7 separate regions of the Homo sapiens genome follow, and all the other regions are linked to region 1. The links are contacts of gene promoters, found by promoter capture Hi-C in blood cells and fetal thymus (Javierre and others, 2016). All regions are on one chromosome and are shown on one strand. The core of a region is centred on a gene start or on the middle of the fragment in contact, and the rest is flanking DNA. Distances in the headings are between cores, read along the strand shown.

The links. Contacts are between HindIII fragments. The CHiCAGO score rates a contact against its expected background, and 5 or more counts as called.
Region 2: a fragment that was not itself captured here is called in contact with the fragment with the promoter of CALHM5 in region 1 in 9 of 17 cell types (naive B cells, M1 macrophages, M0 macrophages and 6 more); the score reaches 11.4 in naive B cells.
Region 3: a fragment that was not itself captured here is called in contact with the fragment with the promoter of CALHM5 in region 1 in 16 of 17 cell types (naive B cells, total B cells, neutrophils and 13 more); the score reaches 26.8 in naive B cells.
Region 4: a contact is called between a fragment that was not itself captured here and the fragment with the promoter of CALHM5 in region 1, in 13 of 17 cell types (total B cells, naive B cells, neutrophils and 10 more). The highest score is 15.7, in total B cells.
Region 5: a contact is called between a fragment that was not itself captured here and the fragment with the promoter of CALHM5 in region 1, in 6 of 17 cell types (naive B cells, total B cells, M0 macrophages and 3 more). The highest score is 9.1, in naive B cells.
Region 6: a contact is called between a fragment that was not itself captured here and the fragment with the promoter of CALHM5 in region 1, in 1 of 17 cell types (neutrophils). The highest score is 5.7, in neutrophils.
Region 7: a fragment that was not itself captured here is called in contact with the fragment with the promoter of CALHM5 in region 1 in 9 of 17 cell types (naive B cells, total B cells, monocytes and 6 more); the score reaches 15.8 in naive B cells.

What each region holds. Positions count from the first base shown.
Region 1 is chr6:116,509,976-116,514,401 of GRCh38, reverse strand. CALHM5 (calcium homeostasis modulator family member 5) reads right to left here and starts at 2,763. Exons shown (of 2, transcript NM_153711.5): 1 at 2,166-2,763. The coding sequence starts at 2,705. All of the region lies in intron 3 of TRAPPC3L (trafficking protein particle complex subunit 3L), which reads left to right. RefSeq lists an enhancer at 2,471-3,052. The HindIII fragment of the contact is 2,544 bases long and covers 2,013-4,426 here.
Region 2 is chr6:116,271,326-116,275,751 of GRCh38, reverse strand. It overlaps TSPYL1 (TSPY like 1), which reads left to right. Exons shown (of 1, transcript NM_003309.4): 1 at 1-894. It also overlaps a transcript of DSE not described here. Among named protein-coding and RNA genes, the nearest start is that of TSPYL1, 6.4 kb to the left of the region's middle. RefSeq lists an enhancer at 4,125-4,426. The HindIII fragment of the contact is 2,550 bases long and covers 1,239-3,788 here.
Region 3 is chr6:116,288,816-116,293,241 of GRCh38, reverse strand. It overlaps a transcript of DSE not described here. Among named protein-coding and RNA genes, the nearest start is that of TSPYL1, 11 kb to the right of the region's middle. The HindIII fragment of the contact is 6,300 bases long and covers 1-4,426 here.
Region 4 is chr6:116,305,124-116,309,549 of GRCh38, reverse strand. It overlaps a transcript of DSE not described here. Among named protein-coding and RNA genes, the nearest start is that of TSPYL1, 27 kb to the right of the region's middle. RefSeq lists an enhancer at 4,001-4,170. The HindIII fragment of the contact is 6,577 bases long and covers 1-4,426 here.
Region 5 is chr6:116,328,165-116,332,590 of GRCh38, reverse strand. It overlaps a transcript of DSE not described here. Among named protein-coding and RNA genes, the nearest start is that of DSE, 41 kb to the left of the region's middle. The HindIII fragment of the contact is 1,232 bases long and covers 1,986-3,217 here.
Region 6 is chr6:116,346,511-116,350,936 of GRCh38, reverse strand. It overlaps a transcript of DSE not described here. Among named protein-coding and RNA genes, the nearest start is that of DSE, 22 kb to the left of the region's middle. The HindIII fragment of the contact is 4,031 bases long and covers 498-4,426 here.
Region 7 is chr6:116,364,550-116,368,975 of GRCh38, reverse strand. LOC100287467 (a long non-coding RNA gene) reads left to right here. Exons shown (of 1, transcript NR_148944.1): 1 at 1-1,551. It also overlaps a transcript of DSE not described here. Among named protein-coding and RNA genes, the nearest start is that of DSE, 4.2 kb to the left of the region's middle. The HindIII fragment of the contact is 574 bases long and covers 1,271-1,844 here.

The sequences.
Region 1 (4,426 bases), core at 1,514-4,013:
AATGAGTGAGGCACAACTACCATCAAGTGAAAGTCCCTGAATGGATTGTGGTTGGCTACCTTATATGTTCCTCCTTCCTTCATCGTCTGTCTTCCTCTTTTTCCACAGCTGAGGCTTCTGTACGCCATCTCATCTCAGTACCTGAGCCAGTTCCAGCTGAATTATAAACTATTCCATCAGCTTCAGGTCCCCTTCCCCCTTTCACATGACGTTTGCATTGACCGATGCTTTCCCTCAATTCACAGTACCCAGAGTCAAACTAGAGCTTGGTGGATGCTTCCATACCAGCCCTCAAAAGTGTCTTATTTTGCATATGTCCTCCCCCAAACCATGGCAGTTTTCCTCATTGACTTGGAACAAATACTGTGTACCAGAAGCTTTATGCCCATTTGTATCTATCATCTCTAAATCTTCCGACAACTCTCCAAAGTAAGTGATATTACCACTAACTATGAGAAAACTGGGACTCAAAGAGGTCGAACCACTAGTTCTAGGTCACATAGCTGGTGATTGGTAGCATCAGCATACAAACCCAACGCCAGACAATTCCAAGACTGAGCTCTTTCCACTACTCCATTCTATCTTCCTTAAGAATAGAGAGTCATCCAGCTAGATTTTTTATCTGCCCCACCCATGGATGAATGTTCTTTTCCGCCTCCAGGCACATGTACACCTATTGTTGGTCTGGACTATATGCTGCCTCCTGCCTATCTGAACCTCTGTAGTCAGCACCTGCTATTGATACAAGTTCTCTTGCCCACATTCCTTATGCATCTTCCCACAGGAATCAGCCCCAGGTCCTTCTCATTCTGATGAAGAATCAGCAGGTCAGTGTGCTCAGCCTAAGCTATGACATGATGTGCAAGATTTCCTTGTACCTGTGTTTAGAGAGGAGAAGCTCACACAATGATAAGTGTTTGGGCCTGCCACTGACTGAATGGAGCCTGGTGACTGAGGACATACACCATAAATCAATCATTCTGTCATAAGAGTTGTAAGTTATACCCTTCTTCAATAAAAGACACAAGACATTTGGGAGCCTGATATGTTTTATCTAAGATGTGCTTTATGCATTAAAGAAAAGATTTTGTTTTGGAGTATTTTTTGACTTATCAATTTATGAAGAGTATGACTTTACTGCCAACCAGCTTTGGAGTGTATGATTTTAAAAACAGATTTTGCCTTGATTTGTTGTTACCAAGGCAAATCCTTGTCGAAAAAGTAAAATAATGCTATTTCTGTGCCTTTATTCTGAAACAGATAGCATTCCTGACAATTTGTGGATCTGCTTATCAACTCTTACCACTTGTTTTGCTTTTGGGAATGCAATTCTTACTACCTATAAATGGGAAGTTAGTCCTTCCTAAGGCTGTACATCTGGATTTGTGTTCATGTGCCTGGAGGAATGACAGGCTACTTCCCTGCATCAATTAGGTAAAGATATGATTTCCTTCTGTTAAATAAAACAATGCCCAAATCTTGAGCTTCTGAAGTAATTAAGAACCCCTTTAGCTGTACAGCACAAAGAGTATAAAACATAATCTCCCTAGAGAGTACAGTCACTTTTTCACAGAAGGCTATTTAAAAACTGCTGATTCCTACCATACAAGGAAAATTCTTCTCAATCTTGACAATATTTATACACAGAGATAGCAGTTGCCAGAAATCATTCAAGAGAATCTCCACACTAATTATATTACATGCAACTTTGAAAAGTAATAACTCATTTCATTCAGCTACATTTTAATAGATGAATAATACATGTGTGTGTTTGAGAAAACAACTTGAATGTAAATAATTGATAGAAGGCAGTAATTTCTAATTACAGCTCTGCCATTAACACTCAATTTATGATTTAGTGTTAGGCATTATTTATTTACAGACCCAGAGAGACTGTTTTAAAGTACTTAAGTATTTATATGTGGACAATCCAGTGGATATTTTCTTTTCAGAACCGGAAAAGAGATAATCCAGTCAGCAACTTTATTGAGCCACCCAGCCTTTCAAAAGCTTTTCCTGAGATAGTCTCAATGCTGCATCATGTTTCAGTTTCCATTTAGTTTCAAAATATTCTGACAGGACACAGACAGCCCTGGCTGAAAGGAGCACAGAGAGAATACTTCGAGCTCATGCTGAGAGAAAAAGGCGAGTTTGTCTTTTCTTACCTGAGACTGGGCCTGAAGGGAGAGTTTCAGTTCTTCATTGACGGTAGGTAGCATGCTAGTTTTGCCACAAGATACTTTGTGAAGTTCTTCCCAGCACTCTTTGGGCTTACCCTTGCAAATCAGTTCCAGGAGTCCTGAACTTCTCGTCCCGCTCATGGCACATTCATAGAAAGTTCCATTGAGCAGAGCCACAGAAAGCCACATCACTGGAGCCACCAATGAGCTCAGAGTGATCTGGCCGAGGACGTAGAAGAAACGGCAGCTGTGGCCTCTGGGAAAGATTTTCCTGGGATTCACACAGCAGCCTGTGAAGAGTCTCCACGACCTATTGTTCAGAAAGAATCCCAGGATCAGTAACACCCAGGCAGGAGCAAAGAGGAAAACCAGCCCATAGGTCATATTCTCAGTGCTGCAGGGGCACTTAAAAGCCACAACAGAAAAGAGACGCTCACTTCCCACGGTCAGCAGAGCCATGAAGCTGTAGCCAATAACAGTTTTCTGATTAAGGAAGAATTTTAAAATGCCCTGAAAAGCATCCATGTTGGAGATGCACAGAGGGAAAATGCTGTGCCTTTGTTATTGGCAGAGCAGCTGTGGCAGTGGCCGAGGGTGGAGCTCTTTCTTCATCAGAAACAACAGTCCTTCTCAGACTGAATTGAGCCAGATAAGGAAACAATGTCATTCCTTAGGAATGAATATTTCTCAACATGTTTAGATAATGCCTCCTACTGGTGGAAATTGGGCTGTGATACTGCAGCCTAAATGCTGAGAATAAATTCAAAGTGCACGGGCTCCATTTTAACCTTCTTTCCATGTGGTTTGGATTGAAAATCAGAAAAGAAATTCTCACTCATACAAATAATAGTCTAGGAATTTTCCAGTGTAAGGAATCAACATTAACAGAAAGAGGTTTCAGCCGACAAATCAAATCTCCAAACCTAGAATTTTATGAATGTTTTTCTCTTCCTATGACTTGAGATTTGGAAGACAGGGATTTGCTGTCTTTTTTCATATATATAAAAACATATGAAAATTATATATATATATATATATCAATAGCTTTTGGAGCACAAGTGGGTTTTGGTTACATGGATGAAATATACATATAAATATACATATATATATATATACATATATATATGAGATTTTAGTGCACCCATCACCGGATATGTATGTGTACCCAATATGTATTTTTTTATCCCTCACCCCCTTCCCACTCTCCCTCTTTCTGAGTCTCCAAAGTCCATTATACCACTCCATATGCCTTTACGTACCCATAGCTTAATTTCCACTTATAAGTGAGAACTACAGTTTTTGGTTTTCTATTTCCGAGTTACTTCGCTTGGAATAACGCCTCTAGCTCCATCAAGTTGCTGCAAAAGACATTATTTCATTCTTTTTTATGACTGAGTAGTATTCCATGGTATATATACACCACAGTTTCTTTATCTATTCATCAGTTGATGGGTACTTAGATTGGTTTCATATCTTTGCAATTGTGAATTGTGTTGCAATAAATATACATGTGCAGGTGTTTTTTTTTAATATATAATGACTTCTTTTTCTTTGGATAGATACCCAGTAGTGGGATTGCTGGACTGAATAGTAGATCTACTTTTAGTACTTAAAGTTCTTTCTTTAAGAATGAAAGAAAGGTGCCGTGGTTCATGTCTGTAATCCTAGCATTTTGGGAGGTCGAGGCAGGTGGATTGCTTGAGCCAAGGAGTACGAGACCAGCCTAGGCAACATGGTGAATCTCCCTCTCTACAAAAAAATACCAAAAAAAAATTAGCCAGGCTCGGTGGCATGCACCTGTAGTCCCAGCTACTCAGGAGGCAGAGATGGGAGGATCGCTTGAGCCCAGGAGGCTGAGGTTGTGGTGAGCCAAATCATGCCACTGCATTCCAGTCTGGGTGACAGAGCAAGACCCTGTCTCATAAATAAATACATAGAAGGAAAGAAAGAAATCTCCATACTGTTTTTTATAGAGGTTGTACTAATTTACATTCCTACCAGCATTCTACAAGCATTCTGTTTTCACAAAATTCATACCAATATCTATTGTTATTGCCTTTTTAGTAATAGCCATTATTACTGGAATAAGGTGGTATCTCATTGTGGTTTTAGTTTACATTTCCCTAATGATTAGTATGTTGAGCATTTTTTCATATGTTTGTTGTCCATTTGTATATCTTCTTTTGAGAAATGTCTATTGATGTCATTTGCTCACTTTTTGATGGGATTATTTGTTTTCTTCTTGC
Region 2 (4,426 bases), core at 1,264-3,763, 240 kb after region 1:
CTCGGCTCACTGCAACTTCCGCCTCCCGGTTTCAAGCAGTTCTCCAGCATCAGCCTCCCGAGTAGCTGGGACTACAGGCACGTGCTACCACGCCCGGCTAATTTTTTGTATTTTTAGTAGAGATGGGGTTTCACCATGTTAGCCAGGATGGTCTCCATCTCCTGACCTCGTGATCAGCCCACCTCAGCCTCCCAAAGTGCTGGGATTACAGGCGTGAGCCACCGCACCCAGCCCATCTAGCATAATGTTTTGCATAGTTGTCAGCAGATAAATATTGAATGACAAAACTCAGATGGAGGAAAAAGAACAAAATAACCTAGTTCTCAGAAAGATTTAATGAGCAAATGGGAAAATGTCAAAAAGATTTGCAATGCCATTCCTAAATAACTATTTCCCCTTTTAGTCATTAGAAAACGTCTAAACACTTTCAACATTAAATCTTTCACTTGCATTTTAACAGAGCACTACTTAATTTTGGGTTACCTTTTATATACTTTGTACATTTTAAGGTGATTATACTGGAGATAGAAGGGGGTTAGACTCTAGATGTGTGTTGTCCAATACAGTAACTTTTAGCCACCAGTGGCTATTGAGCACTTGAAATGTGGCTAGTCTGAATTGAGATCTATAAATATAAAATTCACACTGGATTTTGAAGACTCAGTATGGAAAGAAAAATGTTAAAATATCTCAATTTTTTTCATATTGATTGCATGTTGAAATATTTTTGACATTGTGTTAAAATATATTGAAAAATTAATTATCCTCATTTTGCCATTGTTTAATGTGGCTACTAGTAAATCTAAAATTACATAGGACAGCATGTCTCGACTTCCTGAGGAATATCTGAAAGCATATAAAATATCTGTAAAAATTAAACATGTTAATACTTTCTCCTCCTGAAGCTTCTTGTGACTAAGATAAGGGTTATCTTGCTTAAATTCAAGGCCAATGGGTAAAAAGAAGGTGAGTAAAATTTCTTTAATGAACTGTTCTTGAGTACTTAAGATGCACTGAATATTTTGCAAAATGTACTGTGCAACACTTTCTTGATATAGGCAGGGTAGATTTTGATGCCAAATTGACACAGTTATATTGGTTTAATTTTTAGTGACTTTTAAGACCAATATATGCATATTTTCTAAAGTAAAATGCTCTTTTTTTTTTTTTTGAGACAGAGTTTTGCTCTTGTTGCTCAGGCTGGAGTGCAATGGCACCATCTCGGCTCATGGCAAGCTTCCGCTCACCGCAACCTCTGCCTCCTGGGTTCAAGCGATTCTCCTGCCTCAGCCTCCCCAGTAGCTGGGATTATAGGCATGCGCCACCACGCCCGGCTAATTTTGTGTTTTTGGTAGAGAGATGGGGTTTCTCCATGTTGGTCACGCTGGTCTCAAACTCCCGACCTCAGGCGATGTGCCTGCCTCGGCCTCCCAAAATGCTGGGATTACAGGCGTGAGCCACTGTGCCCGGCCAAATGCTCTATTTTTAGTTTACAAATGTACATGATGTTCAGAAAATATTTTCAGTCGTATTTTAACAGTTGGCTAGCAACAGAAAAGGAAAATATCTGAGTCTAGCTCTGCATTAAGTCAGTTCAATGAACGCGTACTACTTGAAAAAGCAGCCGGGCAGGGTGGCTCACGCCTGAAATCCCAGCACTTTGGGAGGCCGAGGCGGCTGGATCACCTGAGGTCAGGAGTTCGAGACCAGCCTGGCCAACATGGTGAAACCCCGTCTCTACTAAAATTACAAAAATTAGCTGGGTGTGGTGGCAGGCGCCTGTAATTCCAGCTACTCGGGAGGCTGAGGCAGGAGAATCGCTTGAACCCAAGAGGTGGAGGCTGCAGTGAGCCAAGATTGAGCCATGGCACTCCAGCCTGGGGACAAGAGAGACTTCGTCTCAAAAAAAAAAAAAAACAAAAAAACATACTTTTTGAAAATTAGTGGTCTGTAATTGTAATCTTGCAGTAGTTGTTTATTGAATACTAGCATAAGTAAGGATTGAATGGGATAGTAAAGGTTGTCTTTGCCCTTGAGGAACTCAGGCTCATTGAGGGGGGTACCGTTCCTTGAATGTTTCCTTTTTTTCTGCAGCAAATACACACATTCAAAACATCTACTGCACACAAGCAAACTCAGAGAGGACCAGCCTGGCTGAGAGGAGTTGACCATCCCCCTCAGGACTGACTTCCTTTCCTTCAACATTATTATATAATTAAAGTCCTAGACTATATAGAAGTGACAGGTATGCTCTCTATGCATTTATTATTATGGGAGGTGTTTTACTTGGAAGCAGTACTTTCTCCATGTTAAGTGCTTTGAGCTCTGAAGGGCCATCTTAATCCATTCTCTCTGACCTCAGAGGTTGTCAAGACCTATAGAAGAGTTTCTATCAAGCCACATTAGGAAAAATGTGGATGTCTACTTTTTGGCTTCACTTTTTTTAGGATTTGTATTTAAGGTAATTTCTTTGAGAACAGGTAAAAGGAAATGGTTCAATTAAAAAGGAAAGGGTCATTTAAGTAAGTTACTAATTTTTGTGAACACCTATATGTCTTAGATATGACCTGATGGGCAGAGAAGGCATACTAGCTTTAAATTAGGATTAAATCCCGGTTTTACAATTACCATGTATTGCATTTCCCAAAATAAACTACTCTGAATCTTGGTTTCCTTATCCATAATGTAGGGATGATAAAACTTGCAGTATAAGCTAATGTTTTAGGATGCATTTGGAGACTGCATTATAAGGTTACAGAGAAGATAACAACAGAAACATTTGAGAGCTTACTTTGCGCCTGACACTGTGCTAAGAGATTTCAAGTATTAATATAGTTATAATATAGAGGTTAGACAGCAAGCATCATGTCTAGCATATAATATGCAATCAATTAAAATTTCCATTTGTCTTCCTCTCAATTTTAATTTCTCATTTAATTTACATTCAGACAAATAGTCATCTAGCTTCATGGTTCTCAAACCTGGCTGATCATTATATATAGCTTTGAGCTTTCAAAAAATACTGATGCCAAGACTCTACCCTGAACCAATTAAATTACAGCCTAAAGTGCAGCTGAGTTTGAGAATCATGGCTTACCTTTTCTTGAACTCCTTAAGTTAGGGAATACATACTCCCTTCCCAGTTTTGTCAAATTGATTCAAATTTGCCACCTTATAAACATCCAGCTATTGCAAAGAGCCTGGTATATCGTAGAGTTTCAGTATATCTATTTCATAGTTTCCCCCCTGTGGTCTTGCAGAATGGAATTAACCTGAATTCAACAAAAGAGGTCTTTAAAATTCATAACAGCAGGTGTCGTCTGTCTTTGAAATTCCCTTGCCAAAAAAGGAAATGATTTCTTAGTGATATGCTTTACTTCTGTTGATCACTATTTGCTCTTTTAAAGTGTCCAAAGATGTTTTAATAGATACTTGGTATTTGTTGTTTTCTTTAATAAAGTATAATTTACATGTAGCACAGGAATGGTCATAGCAGTTTTATTTATAACAGCCCCAAACTAGAAACAGCCCAAATGTTCACCAACAAGTGAGTGAATGAACAAATTATGGTATATTCATACAATGGAACACCACTCAACAATAAAGAGGAACAACCTATTGATCATCAACATGGATGAATCTCAGAGACATGTTAAGTGAAAGATGTCAAAGGAATATATATTATATGATTCCATGTATATGAAATTCACTAGCATAGAAAACTTTTTTATGGTGATAGAAATCCCAGGAATGGTAGCCTCAAGGTTGAGGGGAGTAACGGTAAAGCTTGAGGACATTTGCAGGGGTAATAGTGCTCCATATCTTGAGTTGGGTGATAACACAGGTGTATCCACTTTTCAAAACTTGTCCAAGTATATATTTAAGATTTATGCATTTTAGTGTAAGTAAATTATACCTCAATAAATAGATTTTAAAATATTATTGATAATTTAAAAAATAGAACTTCATTTGCCCATCTCCAGTCTTTTGGCTTCTCTTCCTTGGTGGTAAAAATTGCTGACTCTACTTACAAGATCTTATTTGTGAGTTCTTACTGTTGCATGATTTTATTTATAATTCTAATAATGAAATTCCTTTTTAAAAACTTATTTCTCTTTCAATTCCAGGCCAAAATTGACCTTTCTCAAGATTCTCTTAGTTTACAAACTGAGGTCTGTCATCCTCTGGTCATTGAAGTGAAGTCTGCTTAGGACATATTGTCCTGTAAATAGGATTGACATTCCCTGGGGCCCTCTCAAGAATCTCTCTGAGCTTCCTTTTCCATTTCTGACCATTTAGATGCTTACAAGATGCTTTTCTCTGACTTCTTCAGCTCCAACTGCTCCTTTCCATTACCCTAAAGCTGTGGATCATAAAGAGTGTTCTCCAGACCAGCAGTATCTGCACCACCTGGATCTTGTTAGAA
Region 3 (4,426 bases), core at 560-3,059, 220 kb after region 1:
ACTCAATATCACATCTGAGCAAATGTTTTTGCTTCAGCTTTAAATACAAGCCCAATAACTTATTAAAGCAAATGTGTTCGTTTATGTTATTTTCTTCTTTGAATTCTGTAGTTAATTATATAAAGTTAAATTATCTCATCATTGTATGAGAGGGTTTTCTTTAATGTTTGTCTGAAAAATATTTTAAATCCAATGTGTAAAAGTCATTCCTAATGTCACCACCTCTCTTTAAAATTCTAAGAAGCAATAAGCTAAAGTCCCCTTCCCATCCTCATCCCCCAGAGATCACCACTGTTGGCAACTGGGTACACATCCTTTCTTAATATTTCTTGCATTTATATAGATACAAGGGTGTCAGCTAATATTTATTAAAATATAATTAGCATATACTTATTGGTCTGCAATGTTCTTTTACATCTTTCTAATTAACATGGATGCTTTTCCAGGTCACTACTTTGGATCCAATTTATTCCTTTTAAAGGTTACGTAATATTCAGTTGTATAAACATGCCATAATTTATCCAACCTTTCTTCTACTTACTGACATTCAGTTTGTTTTCTTTTTTTTTGTTTGTTTGCTTCCTCAACACTTCAGTGTAATAATCAGATCCTTACTCTGCTCCCAACAATGCTGCTCCCTACAAACATTCTTCCCTCAACCCTGCATCTCCTTGAACTTGTCATCCAGTCTTTCCCCTTTTCTATACTGACAATTATGAAAGAACTGGCCTCACACACTATCTATATGTTCATTTATCATTCATTTTTTCAACTCTGCAATTTTTCTGTCTTGCTACTTTTCTGAAATTGCTCTCACTAAAGACACCCATGCTGTATAGCTGCCGCCCAATTCGGAAACTTTTCTTCCCAGTCTTCATCTCACTCAATATGGCTGCATCCCTTGAACCTTAGCTTCCTGAAGTCCATTCTTCCCTTGCATACTGAAACAACACTCTTCTGGTTCTTTCCCTACCTCTAATGGCTATTTCTCAGTTTCCTCTACTTGTGCCACCTCATCTGTTTCTTTCACGTCAGTGTTCCTCAGAGCTCTATTTTTGGCCTTCCTTTCTTCTTCCTCTACTTGTCTTCCTGGTGTTCTCGTCCACTCTGATGATGTCAACTATCACCTAAACACTCAAGATTTCCAAGTCTAACTGTAAACCCCACTCTTCTCCTGCTCTACAAATACCCAAATCTATCTGATCTACAAATACCCAACATCTCCCTAGAGTCACATGAAACTCTCCTTGTCTGTAGCTGAACTGTTGATCTCTCCTCCCACTACAACCCGATCTTCTTCCTGTATTCCATAACTCAATCACATTTCCACCCATCCTTGTTACCCAAACTAAACAAATCAGTCTTCCTTAACTTCTTGTCTACTTTCATATCTAGTTTTTCAATTGGTTCTACAATTTATCTGACATATTCTGTTGTCAGTTACTACATTCCTAAAGATATCCTCATCTACCCTTGCCTGCATTTTTATAATACTTCACAACTGATATCCCAGCCTTTAATCATATAACCTTCACATCATTTTCCATATGGCAATTAATATTATTTTCTGACACTGTCCATGTCAATCCCCTGTTTAAAAGCCTCCAATATCCTCTAATACCCATAGGATTAACAAATATGTATATATATAATTATATTTAATATATCATAAACATATAATAATGTATAATAAAAAGCCTTTAACTATCAGATTCCATTTTACCTAACCATCACCCCCAACTAATCTCCCTATCTTTCAGTCATTTCCTCAAGCTGGCTGGACTTCTACTTGTATTTGAGTCTTTGTTCAGGGTATTTTAGTCAACCTGGAATTTTCACCCCCTCTCTCTTATTATAATTTTATTTTTCTTATTAGGACTCATCTCAAAATTATCACCTCTGAATTCTTACCAAGCTCTCTTATCAATATAGGAATACAAATTTCCTATTCTGTGCACCCAAAGCCCTTTGTCCACATCTCTCTTGCTGGAACAACACTCTCCTAGTATTATAATTATTGGTATCATCTGGTATTATAATTGTTTGTTTCATCTGGTATTATAATTATGTGTTTCTGTGTCTATCTTCTCCACAACACTGTGGTCCCTAATGAACAAAGTCCATGACTTTCAGATTTTTGTATGCCATCCCACAACTCTTGTGTCCTGCATAAACCTCAACAAATGTTTTGAATTTAGAGAGTTTGGAAAGAACAGACGAAGTGGTCTGGTCTCAAGTCTACGCCTCCAATCTTCTGTGCTACAGATGACATTGCAGAGCACAGTGGTGGCCAGAAAATTGAGCAAACTTAGAATGGGTGCTTTGTTTACTTTTTTGCATTCATAATGCAGTTCTAGGATCAGCATTCAATCAACAATTTCACTGAGGTTGGCTGGAAAAAGTTTCTCCCTTTGGGAGAGAAGTTAGCAGTTAAGAGGATTCCTTTCTGCTTTTGGAATTAGGGAAATATTTCCAATTATGAGAGACCACAAATGGGTAGATGATATACTAAGTGGGAAGGATGCAGATTGTCTCTTCTCAGGATGAGTTTTAAGGAATTATTTCCAAATAAGACTTCATGTATTTCCTGATAACAAACCTTGATTTTCAATAATTGCTCCTGAGTGTAGAACAGTACAAATTAATAAAATATTTATTTGCTAGAGCTCTTATATCCTTGAATTAATTAATCAGCAAGTGAAATCTCTGAACCCCAAGTCTGAGAATCTAGAAATACTGTTAATTTAGAAATATCAGCAGTAGCAGGAGATATTACTTTTAAAATGTGCCCCACATTTAGTAAATGCTTCCCCTGAGGGCACTTAACTCCTAAAAACCATATGTCCTGTTTAGATTAATATATTATAATTAAAGTTTCCATGGCTGTTTAAGCTAGCCATCAGTGTGGAATCATTCAATCAATGCAGCCAACACTGCCTAAGAATCTTCTAGGTGCTAGGCACTAATGATACAGATCCAAGAAAACGAAGTTATTAGAAAATAGGTGGCAGTAACCCTTGAGTTCCCCGGTTACTGTCAAAGATTTCAAGAAATCAGAAAAGCAACATGGCATAGTACAAAGAGCTTTGAAGCCAATAAACTGGGTTTATATCCATACTCCATTACTTATTAGTCATGTAACTTTAGGCAAGTCACCTGATATCTCTGGGATTTCTTAATCTTCACAACAGGGTGAATACTACCTATGTAATGGAGGGGTGAGGCAATTAAATAATATATGAAAAGCATTTAACACAGTATCTATTATGTAGTAAATATTCAATAAATATAAATATTTCTATTTATGATGATGAATGAAATATGGTATTTTTCAAATCAACCTGTCACATTTTTAAAACAGATGTGCATAGAATGGCTTGCTTACAAACCCAGTGAAGTTATAATATAGTCTCAGAGCCAAAGAACTCACAAGGCAGAGTTCTCAGCTAATGGATGAAGTGTTATGACAACCAAAGTATTAAGCTGGATACCATAATATGAACTTTTCATATTGAATCAATTTGTATGTGGAAAGTAGTAAATGACCTTGATGAATTTTGTTTTAAAACAAGAGGGCTGGTTTTCTTTACTTTTTATTATTTTTATTTTTTTTATCATGAAGGTCTAGTTGTTCTGAAAAGGTTCTTTGACCCTAGGACTATATTTCCATTTAAAAAAGAAATTTCTGATATTTTTGTATGATACATGAGCTCTGGAGTTTTAAATGAATGGCAACTAACAAAATGTTTAAAGGGTTTTAGCTGCAGATCTAAATACTACCTAAAAAATACACAGAAATATTTCCTTTGCATGAAATTGCTTAATCTTAGGATATTGAGATGCTTTCACATATAACAGTCATGTTTATTAAATGGCTTGACTGTGAATTTTTGGTATAGTAACAAACAAATCACTATGATTCATAGTGACTTTAAAAAATCTATGCAAGTATTTTCATTGTTTCATGTACATTATTTTTAAATTTTCTTTTAAATTATTATACCTTACCATTTTACCTTACTAAAAATACAGTAGGGGTTTGTCCCACCAAGTACACATTTTATTGGTTATTTAAATAACTAATTTAATTACACATATTTTTCAACTAACACTTCCTGAATTTGACCCATTTAGCTTCATTCCTCTCTCTGAAGGGTAATGGCTCAGATTTTTGTAACTTATTTTAAATATGTAAGTTTTATAGTGAAGCAACATAATATTTGGATTATCCTTTTTATGTTATGTGAGCCAGTGGATAAGTACTTCTACTTATATACTCCCAATTATAAACACACAAAATTTTTGCTCAAAAATGCTGCTAGTATGAATTTCAAAAGGTGTTTTTTTCCCTTAAGACTCTTATAAAATGTGTGCCTGCTACCTCTGTGGTATGGCATTTTAGTTCCAGCAACTACACCTTTTTCCA
Region 4 (4,426 bases), core at 787-3,286, 200 kb after region 1:
TTTTTATATTTGGGTTAATATAAGCAAAGATGAATAATTCATGTATAACTAAAAACAGATATATCTACTAATACATAAATACTATCCTCATCCATATATGAACAAAAGTTAATACCATCATAGTTAAACATATAAAGGAGCAATAATAGAACCCATGCTAGACAATAGATAATAGGCAATTGACCTTCTTCATTTTAGAGTGGTGTGTATGTATGTATGTATGTATGTATGTATGTGTATTCCAAATATATAATGACTAAGTTTTAAAAAATTATTTTCTAGACCATCTTGGAAGAAATCCACCTAAAAAGTAGAGTTGTGTGTATACAGGATGAGGGGGGAATAAAATGAGCACATTGAGTGCTATGTGTCATCTAGCACAACAGATGATTCTAATTTTCTTTAATTTGCTCCTCATAAAAACATCATGAGATAATAAGTTCAATTTACTAATGGCTGTTCTAAACAAAATAAAAACTTTTAGTAAAAGTAATAATCAATTAGAAATTTTAATTGATCTTATTTGTCCTCTTGATTTAAAAAACATTAACCATAAGAGCCACTATTTATTAGAATATCTATTATGAGTATCTATTATGCTCAAGGCACGGTAACTCATAATTTATATACCGTTTTTATTCATTTTCAAAAGAATGCAACAAGGCCGGGCACTGTGGCTCACACCTGTAATCCCAGCACAAAAAATTAGCTGGGCATGGTGGTGGGCGCCTGTAGTCCCAGCTACTTGGGAGGCTGAGGCAGGAGAATGGCATGAACCCGGGAGGCGGAGCTTGCAGTGAGCCGAGATCATGCCACTGCACTCCAGCCTGGGTGACAGAGTGAGACTCCATCTCAAAAAAAACCCCAAAAAACAAAAAAATGCAACAAAAGATGGGTGTTATTATCACCATTTTATAGAAGGTATACTTGAGGCTCAAGAGTTTATGTAAATTGCTTTAAAAATATAGCTAGTAAGTCACAAAACAAGAATGTGGGCACTGATCTTTCTCATTAAAAAGCCCTCATTCCACCTACTATGCCAGGCCATCGTCATAATACTTTGACATTTAACCTCCTGTTCAATATTCCTTATGTTTTCATTCATATTTATCAACAAATATTTTCTGTCTAAACAGCTCATATCAAAATATCTAAGAGTAAACAAGGTCACATCAAGTTCTATGTTACCTTATACATTTACGAGATTTACAAATCTCTTACAAGATTGAAGCCGAGCTTAAAAACAAAACAAAAACACTCCCAGAATTTCTGAGTCTAATGCTTACCAGGAAACAACTTGCCTCCAACTCTTACAACATACAATATAACAGGCAGTATTAGTTGAATAAATAGTAAGTGGAAGCAACCAGGTTGTCTAATAGTCAACAGGAGAAATAAATCCACTCCATGACATAGTTAACACAGAGCTATAGTAATATGTGGTTCAGGACATTCAAAATTAGGCCAGCTGGTTATCCAAAGAACACAGGATGGTGATGGTATACTCTGCAGTTACCATAAATTGTCACTGAATGTTCAAGGCCCTGTACAGAATGAAATAAAAAACAAAGAAAACAAGCAAAAGCAATCTCTGAGTTGATAGAGATGACTATTGAAAGAATTAGAACTAAGGAATATATTCACTGTTCACGCTTTTCCAGTAATTCCTCCTAATTTTACCTGAACTTGACTAAACAGTTCATATTTACATGACCCTCCAATTTTTAACTAGAAACATGTATTGCCCTTTGGAATTATCTTGTACACACTTCTTTCCTTGTGCAGCATGGGCTGCACAGTGTTTTGTTTTCAATAAAATATCTGCTGAAATGCCTCTGTGTAAGAGGGTAGAGAGGGGACTGTATAAAAAAATTATTTGTAATGAAAGATGAGTTGGAGTAAGGATAATAAACAGAGACCAAGATTCCTACCATTGTTTAACTTCGTACTACCTTTAGAGAAAGAATTAATCATAATTTATTAGTAACAGCATCTCATTTTTAAAAACTTCTCAATTATTATAAGCATACATTATTGTCTAGTTCATATCCATATAAAATGTATGAAGAAAAGGTTCTTTTCAGAATGTTTTCAACCAAATGCATTCAAAATTCTTTATTAAGATACACTCTTCAGGTCACTGAATCCATCACTGAAGACATAGGAACAGGCAAGTAGGAGCATATACAATGCATCGGCTTGACTAGAAACTAGCTGTCTGTCAACTGCTGAAATTATCTTGTCACAAATTCAAGAAAAGTAATGATCAATCCACACCCAAACAGTAAGGTTAATGAATGATTGGAGTGGTCAGGTTCAGATTATGCCATATTCATTCAGCAAGCCTGGACTTAAGGTCTCCATGGGTCAGGCAGTGAGTTAGGGACAGAAAGATGAAACACATAGCTGCTGTCCTCAGGACTCACATGCCTGTGTGAAAGATTCATCAACAACCCAATATAAGATAGAGTTCTAACTGCTATATTTTACCTCTGTGTAAAGTTGTATGAATACACAGAGGAGGTATATTAGTCTGCTCATGCTGCCCTAACAAAATAACATAGACTGAATAGATTAAAAAACAGAAATGTTTTTTGTATTTTCTCACAGTTCTGGATGCTGGGAAGTCCAAGATCAAGGTGCTAGTCAATTTGGCTCCTGGGGAGGGCTCCCTTTCTGGCTTGTAGATGGCAGCCTTCTTGTTGTATCTTCCCAAGGCAAAGAGAGCTCTTAGGGCACAAATCCCATCATTAGGGTCCTGCCCCCATAACTTCATCTAACCCTAATTCCTCCCAAAGGCCCCATCTCTAAAGAGTATCACATTGAGAGTTATGGCTTCAACATATAAATTTTGGGGGAACACAACATTCAGTTCACAAAAAGAGGGAAGAGTTGTATCTGCCTAGTGCTGTAGAGAAGGGTATTATAGAAGCAACATTTGAACTTGGTCTCAAAGCAGGCATAGGAGGTAACCAGTGGAAGAGCTGGGAGGGCTTACCTTATAGAGCAAACAGCAGGAACAAAAACACAGAAGGAGAAACAAACATAATCATTTCAGCATATATAGAGTAAGGAGTGCCTTAGAGAAAGCAAAAAGTGAGGCAGGAAAATTAGGATGAGACCTGATTGTAGAAACTCCCTGAGCATAATGTTTATGAGCTTAAAATTTCTTTTTATGGGCAGTGGGAAGTTTATGAAATTGTATGTGTATGTACCTGTGTGTGTATGTATGTTATAATAAAGTCTGTTGTTTGGATAACAGTTACATAAGTTCAATATCTAAAAATTGAGTTTTTAAAAGTTTCTATGTTGAAATAATTTTAAACTTATAGAAAGGTTGCAAGAATAGTACAAAGAACTTCTTTGTAGTTTTTATCCAGATTTACCAATCATTACTCTCTTGCCATATTTATTGTTCTCTTTTTACATATATATGCATATATCATTTATATACTGATATGGATGTGTATGTGTATCTATACACACATACACATACTCACATGTACATACATACATTTTTTTCTAAACTAGTTGAGAATGGGTTCACACATTAATCCCTTTATCTCTTAATAATTCAGTGTATATGTTACAGAAATAAAGATACTCTATGCCAGGCACGGTGGCTCACACTTGTAATCCCAGCACTTTGGGAGGCTGAAGTGGGTGGATCACCTGAGGTCAGGAGTTCAAGACCAGCCTGACCAACATAGTGAAACGCTGTCTCTACTAAAAATACAAAAATTAGCTGGCTGTGGTGGCACATGCTACACTGTAATCCCAGCTACTCAGGGGGCTAAAGCAGGAGAATCGCTTGAACCTGGGAGGCAGAGATTTCAGTGAGCCAAGATTACGCCATTGCACTCCAGCCTGGGCAACAAGAGCGAAACTCCAACTCAAAAAAACAAAAACAAAAAAAAGGATACTCTATAGCTACGGTATAATTATCAAACTCAGGACATTAACACTGATGTAATAATTTTATCTATTCCAATTTTGTCAATTGCCTTAATAGTGATCTGTATACTATGTCAATTGTTTTTCTTGTATAGGACCTAATCCAGGACCATGTATTGCATTTCACTTTCTTGCTTCTTTTGTCTCCTTCAATCTGGAACAGTTCCTGAGTCTTTATTTTATTTTTTGTTTCAGGAAACTAACCTTTTCTTTAATAGTGAGAACTTTTAAAGCAACAATATGTTTTAAAATCTTTATTACTGAAAAATAACTAAGGTCTTCAAGAAAGAAATGGATAGATGACAGAGAGTATTAAATAAGGGGCAGGGAGGAGCCTTGGGAGATCAAACCAGCTAAGATGCTACTGGGATGGGAGAGGATGGGAGAGAAGGGAGGACACTTATGTGGGAGACCCAACAGGATTTAGCGCAGGTTATGTGCAAAAAGAAAAAAAAAAAAAGGAAAGTTTGAT
Region 5 (4,426 bases), core at 1,352-3,851, 180 kb after region 1:
CTGATTTTTGTCTATTCTTACCCCAATACTGTACTATCCTAATTATCACAGACATAAGTATTAATATCCAGTAGAGCAACTCCTCTTACCTTTTCCCTCCTATTCAAGAGTGTCTTGTCTATACCTGTTTCTCTTAATTTTTTTTTCATATTTTAAAGAATTGAGTTTCAAACTCCTTTTCTCCCTGTGTCTCTCTTACACACACACACACACACAAACCAACTGGGATTTTGATTTGAATTTCTTTGGATCTAAAGCTCAGTTTCAGGAAAATTAACATTTTAAAAATGCTGAGTCTTCCAATATATAAATGTAGTACAAGTATTCATTGATTTGTCTTTTTTAATGTCTCTTGGGAATGTTTTATGTTTCTTTTACAACTGCTAAAATATTTATTTTTAGGTTTTAAATATTTTTGATCCTATTATGATTATTTTCAGTTTTATTTTCTGTTGTTGCTCATCATAGAAATGAAATTTTTAAAATCTACAAGTCGAGATTAGAATTGAGTTTAACAAGGTTGCTGGGATACAATTTTATTAAACTCAATTCTAAGAACTATCTGTAGAGTCTTTGAGTTTTTTTATATATATAGTCTTAGCAAATAATGGCAGTTTTACTTGTTCTTTTTCTTTTAGATGGAGTCTCACTCTGTTGCCAGGCTGGAGTGCAGTGATACCATCTTGGCCCACTGCAACCTCCGCCTCTCGGGTTCAAACAATTCTACTGCCTCAGCCTCCCAAGTAGGTGGGACTACAGGTGCGTGCCACCATGCCCAGCTAATTTTTGTATTTTTAGTAGAGACAGGGTTTCACCATGTTGGCCATGATGGTCTCGATTCCCTGACTTCGTGATCTGCTTGCCTCTGCCTCCCAAAGTGCTGGGACTACAGGCGTGAGCCACTGTGCCCGGCCTACTTGTTCTTTTCAATTCTTCTTCCTTACCACACTAATTAGGACTTTCAGTGGCAGGTAGCCTAGAAATGTTGGTAACTATTGATATGGTTTGGCTCTGTCCCCGCCCAGAACCTCATCTTGAATTGTAATCCGAATTGTAATCCCCATATATTGGGGGGTTACCTCGTGGGAGGTGATTAGATCATAGGGGCATTTCCCCCATGCTGTTCTCATGATAGTGAGTGACTTCTCATGAGATCTGATGGTTTTATAAGGGGCTTTTCCCCACTTCGCAGTGCACTTCTCCTTGCTGTCACCATGTGAAGAAGGATGTGTTTGCTTTCTCTTCCACCATGATTGTAAGTTTCATGAGGCCTCCCCAGCCCTGCAGAACTGTGAGTCAATTAAATCTCTTTCCTTTATAAATTACCCAGTCTTGGGTATTTCATCATAGCAGCAAGAGAATGAACTAATACAACTATTATCTTATTCCTGATCACAGAAAGAAAGTTTTCAGTATTTCTATGGTGTTTATTATTGGTGTTTTGTAGATACCCTGTATTTGATTAAAGAAGCTCTCTTCTATTCTTCGTTTGCCCAAAGATGTATTTTAATCATAAATAGATGCTTACTTTAACCAACTGCTTTTCTGCATCTAGTACAATTATCATATAATTTTTTCCTTTATTCTGTTAATGTCATAAATTCTCAGTTTTCTAATATTAAACTAACATTGCATAATTGCAACAAACTCAACTTGTGACATTTCATATATACATGTTGTATGGTTATCTAATATTAAGAATTTAAGCATATCTGTTCATGATTGAGGTTGCCTGCAATTTTTCCTCATCATTTAATGTTCATGTTCTTATATCAAAGTTGTGTTGACTTTATAAGCTAGGTTGGAGAACATCTTTGTTTTTCTGTTTTCTGAAAAGGCATAAAATCAGGGTATTTGCTAGACTGGAAGGTTTAAAATGAGTGATTCAGCTTTTTTGAGTCATAAGGAGATAGTCATAATTTCTATTTCATCATGTTGAGATTTATGCAGTTGTATTTTTTGTATTTTTCTTATCCTACTAAGCTTATAATAAAATAATCAAAACATCAAATATATTAACTAGAAATAGTTATTACCAAAATCGGTGGTAGTTGAGAGTTGTATTTAAGGGTAGCTCTTTCTATTTCTTGATTATTAAGAGTTCCCTTATTAAAATAAATTGCTTTTTGGCATAATTGTCAAAAACATATGTAATACCAAAAAGATTAAAAATGCATTTTGTTTTGAGTTAAAATGAATAGACGCATGCAGTGGCATAGCTAGGTACTTGATGCCTGAAAGGGACCATTTTTAATACGCCTTCCTCTGTATGATAAAAGTATTTTCAGTAATAATTTTGAAATGAAACAAATAATAATTATGTCCAGAAAAGAAATGCAGGCAGTGAAAGTTTTCATTTATTCAATTTTGACTATGTAATCATGCTAATAATAAATTAATAAAGTATATATTTTAGCTGAAAATGCAAAAAGTTAAGGTTTAATACTTTTTAAGTACATTAGTATGGGCCAGGCGCAGTGGCTCACGCCTGTAATCCCAGCACTTTGGGAGGCCGAGGCAGGTGGATCACCTGAGGTTGGGAGTTCAAGGCCAGCCTGGCCAATATGATGAAACCCCATCTCTACTAAAAATACAAAAAATCAGCTGGGCGTGATGGTAGGCGCCTGTAATCCCAGCTACCCGGGAGGCTGAGGCAGGACAATCACTTGAATCCGGAAGGCGGAGGTTGCATTGAGCTGAGATCGCGTCATTGCACTCCAGCCTGGGGACAGAGCAAGACTCCATCTCAAAGAAAAGAAAAGAAAAATATTTATACCTATATACTGGTTTGCCTCAGTGAAGAATAATCACTTTATGTTTTCTGACTTTGAGCATTAATTTTTGCAAATTTGTCAATGCTTTGTCAAATTAATCTTTATATAGTCATGGTCAGTAAAATCAGTGCGGTCAGATGTGTTGACATCACTCATAGTTGATTGAAGAACATTTTTTATTTTAATTTCAAAAAGTTTCACGTGAAATAACAGATATGGAAATAGTGATGAAATCTTTAAAATAAGAATACATTCATCAGATTCATACAAATCCCATTTCACAATAAATTCCAGAAATTATAGTACTACCCATATCCTTTTTTCTTTGGGATCAGTTCCAGCAGTTTTCAAATATTTCTGCTGTTGAAAAATTTCCACTAAAATAACTTCACCAGAAAATTCATCATAAATTTCTATCATATTTGGTAAAATTCTCCAAAGCTTGTAATGATTGTGAATTATTTGAGCTTGCTTCAGGCTCAGGTCACATCTCCAGTCCCTGTGGTACTATGTAAGCCTGTATTTAAACACAGACTAAAAATAAACAATTACAGCAGAGTGATTATAAAAATGAAACAGAACTTGACTGCTTATTCTTGAAATAAACAAGTATAGCTGAGTCCATGTGCATTTGAGAGTTAGAATTACTTCCACATAGAATGCAATGTTTATTAAATAATAAGTAATAATAAAAACGTAATATTCAGCTTACATTTGTTTTGTTAAATTTCAGCAACTGCAGCAGTTGTTTAGAACTTAGACCAACAAAAGTTTTTTTATTTTTCAAAGAGGAGTAGTATTGTTGATATTGCTTGGAACTGCCAGGCATAGTAAGCGGAACTGCCAGGCGTAGTAAGCAGAACTGGCTTTTATTATTATTTTATTTTTATTTCTTTTCAATTTTCTACACACAAAGCAGCCCTTATTGCCTGTACTAGGGGTGAACTACTCTCCTTATCCCATCCTTGGTATCCCATACCACTGACTGGATGAGAAAAATAGTGAAGCAAGCTGAAAGGGAACACTCACTTCCTTTTAAACAGCAGGCCAGATAGTCTTCTGGAATTAAGAGATTCCAAGTAATTATAAGAAGAATAAAGTGGTTTGTTGATTTATTTCTGGAAACTTTCACAAAAATAGATATTACATTCCTTCTTGCTCCTTTACTGGGCTTGCTTGAATCATTACAATGTGCGTCATTTTTTATTATCTGCTGATACTGGCAGTGGAGTACTAGAACTTACTTTGATGTAATGGAATGGATATACCAAGATTTTAAATTTTGGTCAGTCTTACAGACCTCTGCAGTGCCATTTGAGGTATTTCCTGGCTGTATCTGAAACTCTTCGCACCCCATCTCAAACTGAAGGGAGGCAAAATTGTTCTGCTCAATATGTGCACAGTCTCCTCGGTCCAGAAAGGAAACGTATGAGAAATTTGATTAAAATCTAAGTGACTCATAATGTGAATCTCAAAAGAGTGTAACAAATGTTAATTAGTTTTAAATTCCAACACCCTAAGAACTTATTGTATACATTGTAGTAAGTGAAATAACTGGAAAAAACAGCATTGAATCCTTTCACAATCAGACTCTCCCCTAACCAAAATGACTGTACCTTGTATGTTTTCTATGTTTCATTGACAAATTTGGT
Region 6 (4,426 bases), core at 1,264-3,763, 160 kb after region 1:
ACTTTCAGGACTTTTTTTTTTTTTCCAAAAGGAAGATATGCCAGGAAAATCTTTATACAATTAAATAGTCTATGTTCGTCATGTCTAAAGGCATGGAAAAGACCCAAAAGCTATTTTTTTTTATTACTTGGAGTCAGAGTATTTGGTACCGTACACGTTTAGTGAATATACTTGCATGGAACATAACTCATCTTTGAGAATATCATCATAGTGGTATGGACTTGCCTGACATTTAGAGAGTCATATACTTTTCTGTCCAAGGAATAGTCTTAAATATCAAAATTACCAAATGAGTACAAAACAATGTCTGCCTGACTGGGTTTTTTGTTCCCTCAAAGAATAGACAATTGTGTCAGTTGGACTTTTTTATGATTAATGGGGTAATGATGGTCCTGTTTAATACCTTTTCCTGAGATAATCTGGGTAGAAGCTCATGACCCTGCAAATTCTAAATTTAATTTTCAGTTTGGGTTACCCAGAATTCACTAGAGTAAGCTTTTGTGATACGAAAAGAAGAGATACAAGTTCTTTTCTCTGAAGAGTTCTCATATAATCATGCTTTTAAAAAAAGAATTTATTGCCACAGAAGTTAGAAGTAGAAGATTTCCACTCTATAGGGAAATAAGTCAGTCCTAGAATAATGTAGGCCCATACCCATTGATCTTCATACTCTTCCTCAACCATACCATCTTGGGCAGTTTTTATTAAGGCATACGAAATGGCCTGATCACTTTTCAGTTTTCTTACTATCCTGTTCTCTTATGAGATAAATCATTTTGACATAGAAAAAAGCAAGATATAAAATTTAAAAATGAAACTGGATTTGAGCTAATTAGCCTCTTAAAATTATAAGTTCAGATTCCTAAACACTATAAAAGGGAGTAGTACATTTAGGTATTTTTTTAAAAAGACTATGCATGTAAACATGAAATAATTAATATGTAAGTGATTCTTTTAAAGGTAGTAAGTGGTGAGCTTTTGGTTATGGCCAAGTGAGGAGACAAATTCTCTCTGTAAAAAGTAACTATAAAGCTGGATAAAATTGACAAAAACAATCATTTTAGCACTCTGAAAATCAACCAAAGGCATACAACCTGAGAAGTGTTTAGGCTTGAAAAACTGCTGAATATAAGAATAATGAGAACCTGTGGCATTCTAGCCTGAAGCTACTCACATATCTGCCCTCCCTTCCTCCTCACTTCAGTAAGGACAGAGGTTTTATAGAAGGAGGCCAGGCCATGAGGACAGGCAGCTTCTCTGTCACGATCCATGAGAGCTCACTCAATCTGGAGTGATGAGAAATGACCACTCCCAGCAGCATATTTGGTAAAAGTGCTGATCTCTGAGGTGGGTAAACAGGGAAAGCCAACTGCTCTACTAGTCTGAGGCTGTAGTCACAGTTGGAGAATACTTCTCTGGCTGTGTATATTTCCTGGAGAAGGCCCGAGCTAGTCACTCAATCCCGGCTACCCCTGAATTTGTTTGCATAAAAGAGATAAGAAAAGGTCCAGTGGTCAGTAAAAGCTGGAGCTTGAGTCAGCTTGAAAGCACCTGAACTCTGAGTGAGCTCCCCTACCACACAGAGATCCTTTGGCAAAAGACAGAAACTTCATTGGCTCAAGTGTTTCAGCACAACCTCTATCCAATCACTAAGCCATACTGGCATGGGAAAACCTTTAGGAATCCAGGTTTAGAGGTGTGTATGTATGTATATGGGTGTGTGTGTGTAGATATATGTATATATGTATACATATCCATTTTATATTAGTGTATATAAATATTGATATATATGTATATGTATGTGTATATATATATTTTGGTTATACTTTATGTTCTAGGGTACATGAGAACAACGTGCAGGTTTGTTACATATGTATACATGTGCCATGTTGGTTTGCTGCACCTGTTAACTCATCATTTACATTAGGTATATCTCCTAATGCTATCCCTCCCCCCTCCACCCACCCCACCCTGGTGTGTGATGTTCCCCACCCTGTGTCCAAGTGTTCTCATTGTTCAATTCCCACCTATGAGTGAGAACATGTGGTGTTTGGTTTTCTGTCCTTGAGATAGTTTGCTCAGAATGATGGTTTCCAGCTTCATCCATGTCCCTACAAAGGACATGAACTCATCCTTTTTTATGGCTGCATAGTATTCCATGGTGTATATGTGCCACATGTTCTTAATCCAGTCTATCATTGATGGACATTTGGGTTGGTTCCAAGTCTTTGCTATCGTGAATAATGCCGCAATAAACATACGTGTGCATGTGTCTTTATAGCAGCATGATTTATAATCCTTTGGGTATATACCCAGTAATGGGATGGCTGGGTCAAATGGTATTTCTAGTTCTAGATCCTTGAGGAATCGCCACACTGTCTTCCACAATGGTTGAACTACTTTACAGTCCCACTAACAGTGTAAAAGTATTCCTATTTCTCCACATCCTCTCCAGCACCTGTTGTTTCCTGACTTTTGGGGTTTTTTTTTTGTTTTTTTTTGTTTTTTTTGAGACGGAGTCTCACTCTGTCGCCCAGGCTAGAGTGCAGTGGCACGATCTCGGCTCACTTCAAGCTCCGTCTCCCAGGTTCACGCCATTCTCTTTCCTCAGCCTCCCGAGTAGCTGGGACTACAGGCGCCAGCCACCATGCCTGGCTAATTTTTTTAATTTTTAGTAGACACGGGGTTTCACCGTGTTAGCCAGGATGGTCTTGATCTCCTGACCTCACAATCCACCCGCTTTGGCCTCCCAAAGTGCTGGGATTACAGGCGTGAGCCACCGTGCCCAGCCTGTTTCTTGACTTTTTAATGATTGCCATTCTAACTGGTGTGAGATGGTATCTCATTGTGGTTTTGATTTGCATTTCTCTGATGGCCAGTGATGATGACCATTTTTTAATGTGTCCGTTGGGTGCAAAAATGTCTTCTTTTGAGAAGTGTCTGTTCACATCCTTCACCCACTTTTTGATGGGGTTGTTTGATTTATTTCTCATAAATTTGTTTAAGTTCTTTGTAGATTCTGGATATTAGCCCTTTGTCACATGGGTAGATTGTAAAAATTTTCTCCCATTGTGTAGGTTGCCTGTTAACTCTGATGGTAGTTTCTTTTGCTGTGCAGAAGCTCTTTAGTTTAATTAGATTCCATTTGTCAATTTTGGCTTTTGTTGCCATTGCTTTTGATGTTTTAGTCATGAAGTCCTTGCACATGCCTATGTCCTGAATGGTATTGCCTAGGTTTTCTTCTAGGGTTTTTATGGTTTTAGGTCTAACATTTAAGTCTTTAATCCATCTTGAATTAATTTTTGTATGCGGTGTAAGGAAGGGATCCAGTTTCAGCTTTCTACATATGGCTAGCCAGTTTTCCCAGAACCACTTAATTAAACAGGGAATCTTTTCTCCATTTCTTGTTTTTGTCAGGTTTGTCAAAGATCAGATGGTTGTAGATGTGTGGTATTATTTCTGAGGGCTCTGTTCTGTTCCATTGGTCTATATCTCTGTTTTGGTACCAGTACCATGCTGTTTTGGTACCAGTACCATGCTGTTTTGGTTACTGTAGCCTTGTAGTATAGTTTGAAGTCAGGTAGCATGATGCCTCCAGCTTTGTTCTTTTTGCTTAGGATTGTCTTGGCAATGCGGGCTCTTTTTTTGGTTCCATATGAACTTTAGAGGAGTTTTCTCCAATTCTGTGAAGAAAGTCATTGGTAGCTTGATGGGGATGGCACTGAATCTATAAATTACCTTGGACAGTATGGCCATTTTCAGGATATTGATTCCTCCTATCCATGAGCATGGAATGTTCTTCCATTTGTTTGTGTCCTCTTTTATTTAATTGAGCAGTGGTCTGTAGTTCTCCATAAGAAGTCCTTCACATCCCTTGTAAGTTGGATTCCTAGGTATTTTATTCTCTTTGAAGCAATTGTGAATGGGAGTTCACTCATGATTTTGCTCTCTGTTTGTCTGTTATTGGTGTATAGGAATGCTTGTGATTTTTGCATATTGATTTTGTATCCTGAGACTCTGCTGAAGTTGCTTATCAGCTTAAGGAGATTTTGGGCTGAGATGATGGGGTTTTCTAGATATATAACCATGTCATCTGCAAACAGGGACAATTTGACTTCCTCTTTTCCTAATCCAATACCCTTTATTTCTTTCTCCTGCCTGATTGCCCTGGCCAGAACTTCCAACACTATTTTGAATAGGAGTGGTAAGAGAGGGCGTCTCTGTCTTGTGCTAGTTTTCAAATGGAATGCTTCCAGTTTTTGCCCATTCAGTATGATATTGGCTGTGGGTTTGTCATAAATAGCTCTTATTATTTTGACATACATCCCATCAATACCTAGTTTATTGAAAGTTTTTAGCATGAGGCGCTGTTGAATTTTGTCAAAGGCCTTTTCTGCATCTATTGAGATAATCATGTGGTTTTTGT
Region 7 (4,426 bases), core at 308-2,807, 140 kb after region 1:
GGATGACATTCACTTTGTGCAAAGCCCCCCCCGTCCCCCCGCCCCCGCCCACCCCATTACAGTAAGTCTCAACAGATCTGCTATTCTGCTCTCTGGAATCTACAGGATACACCTAGCCTTGATTCCACAGGAGAATACTTCAATTTACCTGGGTACATATTAACTCCATCAGCTTTTCTTCATCCATTAGGAAAGCTCTCAGGAGGAGATTTACTTTGCCAACATCTCTCTCAAACCCTGATGCCAAGAATTGAATTCAAGGTTTCACCCAAGTGACAAACTAGAAAGATGTTTAATGGCTTTGTTGTAATTACTGTATTTCCCTAAGTATATCCTTGGAGCTTCCATGGCAGCAATATTACCCAGCTGACTCCATATTACAATCTACCAAATAAAACCTTAAAGTGTTAAAAGTTTAGTTGGAGAATCACTGAACTAAACAACTACACTCAATGCAGTGTTCAGCACTTTACCTGTGATTCTACTGAATTTTATTGTGTTAAATTAGGCCTCTTAGCTTGTTGACATATTGGGTATCATTGATATAACTGAGTAATTCCACCTCTCAATTTCATGACCTCTGTAAATCCGGTCTGTATGCCATGCCATCATTTAAGTTCTCATTCTCAGGTACCTTCCTCTGCCAACCGACACTGGATTTGAATGCTACTGATGAACATTCTTATCAGTTGAGGACCCACATGTTACCTTGTCCTATTTTTGTCTGTTGTCCCAGGGTAGCAGCCTGTGTACATGGGTACGTGGCACTTTTGTAAGAATTAGAAAAAGGTATCCCCACTCTCACCTTAGCTGAAGGATTAGGAAAAAGTGACCCCTTACGCCTAGATGCAGCTCCAAACAGACAGCAGATGAGCTTTGTCTATTGGATGTCTTTGCTCTACTGTAATATTGTCAAAAAACAAAGGAAATGACTACTTAGTGAATTGTGGTTCATGTCTACAAAATTGTGTCTTCCTTTTCTAAGTATCCAGATGTCATTTTAATAATAGGTTTATTCATTTTGTTCAGTATCTGTGAAAAGTTTCTTGCCTCGGTTTCAGACTAAGGCAAAAACTGGAACTCCATCTGTCCACCTCCAGTTTTTTAGTGTTCATCTCCCTCTGCTGATTCTAGCTGAGAGTCCTTATTGGTAAACTCTCCTTGCTGAGATGGAAATTTACTAGGCAAGAAGAAGTTAAGCTTTAGACAGCTAGGACATATTTTCTTACAAGCTTCTTCACCTATCTTTTCAGTTAACTCTTTGAAAGCTTATTTTATCCCTTACATTTAATGGTTTATTTTTACATAATAGAGAAGACAAAAAAAAGGGAATTAGTTTTGTTTAGTCATCCATTTTATCTCAAGCAGAGGCATCCCTTCCATGTTCTTCTTGTCTGAACAAAACAAAATGTTATTTTTTGTTGTTGTCGTCCTTAGTTTATTCTTGGCTTTAGCCTAAAATAACAGAGTAACAATATTACAGGGCTGTTACAGGTATGCGGCTTCTGTTCTCCTCTTGAGTTTAATTCATTAAACTAAATTTTAATCTGCCTTTTATGTTTTACTAATCAGTCTGGTCCATGACTATACATCTGCTTCCATTCTTGAAATGCTTTTTGTTTTTCTTCCTCAGGCCAAAATTATTCTATTTGTAAAACTGCCTTACCCTGCACCTATAGATTCTCTCATCTTCAGATCACAGAAGAAGTAAGATCATTTTGGTTTGCTCAAGCCATACTGCCCTGTACTTGTACTTACTGATTCAGTGATAATCTCCTGAGCTTTCCCTTCCATTTCTGAGCATTCAGCCCTGGCCAGGCATCCTCCAGAGGCTTCTCCAAGCTTCCTTGCTCAGGCCTCCCTCCCTGCCTTTCTCAGCGCTGACATGATCTTCTCCATTACCAAGACTGCTCCGCTGCGACTGCTTCATCTCCAGATGACTCAAGCTTCGTGGGCTTAGTTTTCATCTTTAAAAAAAATGAAACATTGACCTACATTCTTAATAATAATTGAATTCCACCTCCACTGCAAGTCACAATTTGAGATTTCTGCAGGTACATACTTCCTGGCCTCACAATCTTCTAATAGGTCATGAAATGTACCAGGCACGTCCATACGTGTCTCCTTTTATCCTCACAGGCACTGACTGATGAGGAAACAGAGGCTCTGAAAGTTAAAGTGAATTTCCCAAACCATAAATGGTTCAGACCACATAACAATTATGTTTTCTGACATAAAATCTAGGATCCTTCCACTAAACCACTTGGCCTAGACTAACTTTTTGTGTCTAAAGCCTCATTTACAGTTTGCGTATCCTGGCCTCAGTTGAAAGCTATTCTCCATTCATTGACAATTGACTTTTGAAATGGATGATTTTATATCACCTCTTATTATAAACTACCTAAGGTGTCCTAAACACCTTCCAAATTATAATATTGTTCTCTGAAATTACAAAAATTACTGATATTTGTTACATGAATGAATGAAATTAGATGTTTATTCTTTTCCTTAGACTTAATAGACCAAAAGGAGTGTAACATTTAGTATTATAAGCTCCTTCATGGTAGAGACTCTTCTTCATTTCTATAGCCATTCCTCATATTTCCTGGCAGAGGGCACGTTTATTAAATTAGAATTCAATTTTCAGATTGTGGCTGTGTCCCAGTCTAGATACCATGGTGGATAATTTAATGTGTCCATCAAATAAGAGCAAGGACTTTGAAGTTGAACAAAACTAGGCTGAAATCTAGACTCTGTCACTAACTGTGTGACCTTAGGCAGGCAAGTCATTTAACATTGTTGAGTTCCACTTTCTCATCAGTAGGATTTTGATATGCAAACTTTTCTCATACAGTTTCTGGAAGGAGCAAACCAAACGTTGTATATAAAATACCTGCCAAGGAATGAGAACTCAGTAAGTAGGTGTTTATTGTCATAACTTAGAATGGTTCTAGGGGCTGTCAATGAGAGATACACCCTTTGGAATCAGTCTTGTGTGGACTGGAACATGCCTGGGCATTTTTCAGGCAGGATCTGAAGCAATTAAGGTGAGTGATACCCTACCTCTCAGAACCCTGCTAAAAGTAGTTGAGGTCATGCCAGTTTTTGCAATAGTTTGGAAATCAAGCCTTCTGTGCTCTTCAGGAGGAGATAAGGATTGTCGTGGCAGTATTCTATAATAGTAATTCTAACCCCTGGGTGCATATTAGCATCACTTGGGAGAACCCAAAACACACCAATGCCTAGTTGTACTCTTAGAAATTCTGATTTAATTCCTTCTAGGATGAAGTCCAGATACCCCATATGCTTTTAAAGGTACGAGATAGTTCCAATGTGCAGCCAGAGTTAGAACCAATGCTACGTAGTGGTGCTTCCCAAACTTTGCTGCACATTAGAACCATCTGGAGAGCTTTAAGAACTTCCGGCCACGTGCGGTGGCTCACGGCTGTGATCCCAGCACTTTGGGAGGCCGAGATGGGCAGATCACGAGGTCAGGAGATCGAGACCATCCTGGCTAACATGGTGAAACCCCGTCTCTACTAAATATACAAAAAATTAGCCAGGCGTGGTGGTGGGTGCTTGTAGTCCCAGCTACTTGGGAGGCTGAGGCAGGAGAATGGCGTGAACCCAGGAGGCGGAGCTTGCAGTGAGCCGATTGCACCACTGCACTCCAGCCTGGGCGATAGAGCAAGACTCCATCCCCCCCACAAAAAAAGAACTTCCGATGCCCCAGTTATAGTCTGTACCAACCAAATTAGAAAGTTTGAGGTGTTTAAAACTCTGTGATTCCAATGTACCAAAAGTTTGGAACCACTGTTTTATAGAGTGTTACTAAATAGGCTGGGTGAGGTGGCTCACACCTGTAATCCCAGCACTTTGGGAGGCCAATGCAGGCAAACTGCTTGAGCCCAGGAGTTCGAGATCAGCCTGGGCAACATGGCAAAACCCCATCTCTACTAAAAACACACACAAAAAATTAGCCGGGCATGGTGGCGCACACTGTAATCCCAGTTACTCAGGAGGCTGAGGCACGAGAATTGCTGGAACCCAAGAGGCAGAGGTTGCAGTGAGCCGAGATCACACCACTGCACTCCAGCCTGGGCAACAAGAGTGAAACTCGGTGTCAAAAAAAAAAAAAAAAAAAAAAGTGTTACTAAACAGGTACTTGAACCAAAGGAAGTATTAATTAGAGAATATGTTTATTTGCCACATTTCTTCTGGTTTATTAATTATATAAAATATTGTGAAGATTAGTTTTTATTAACTCAAGCTCACTAATGTATTTCTTTCTAAATACTTTTGTTGGATATGCAGTTTGGGAAAAATAATATTTGATGTCAATACTGGCTGAACTAGTGAAGTTGACTTCATATTGCAGTTAATGTTTCACTTCAAGTTTCTGCTGCCTGAGTATTACACATAGTGA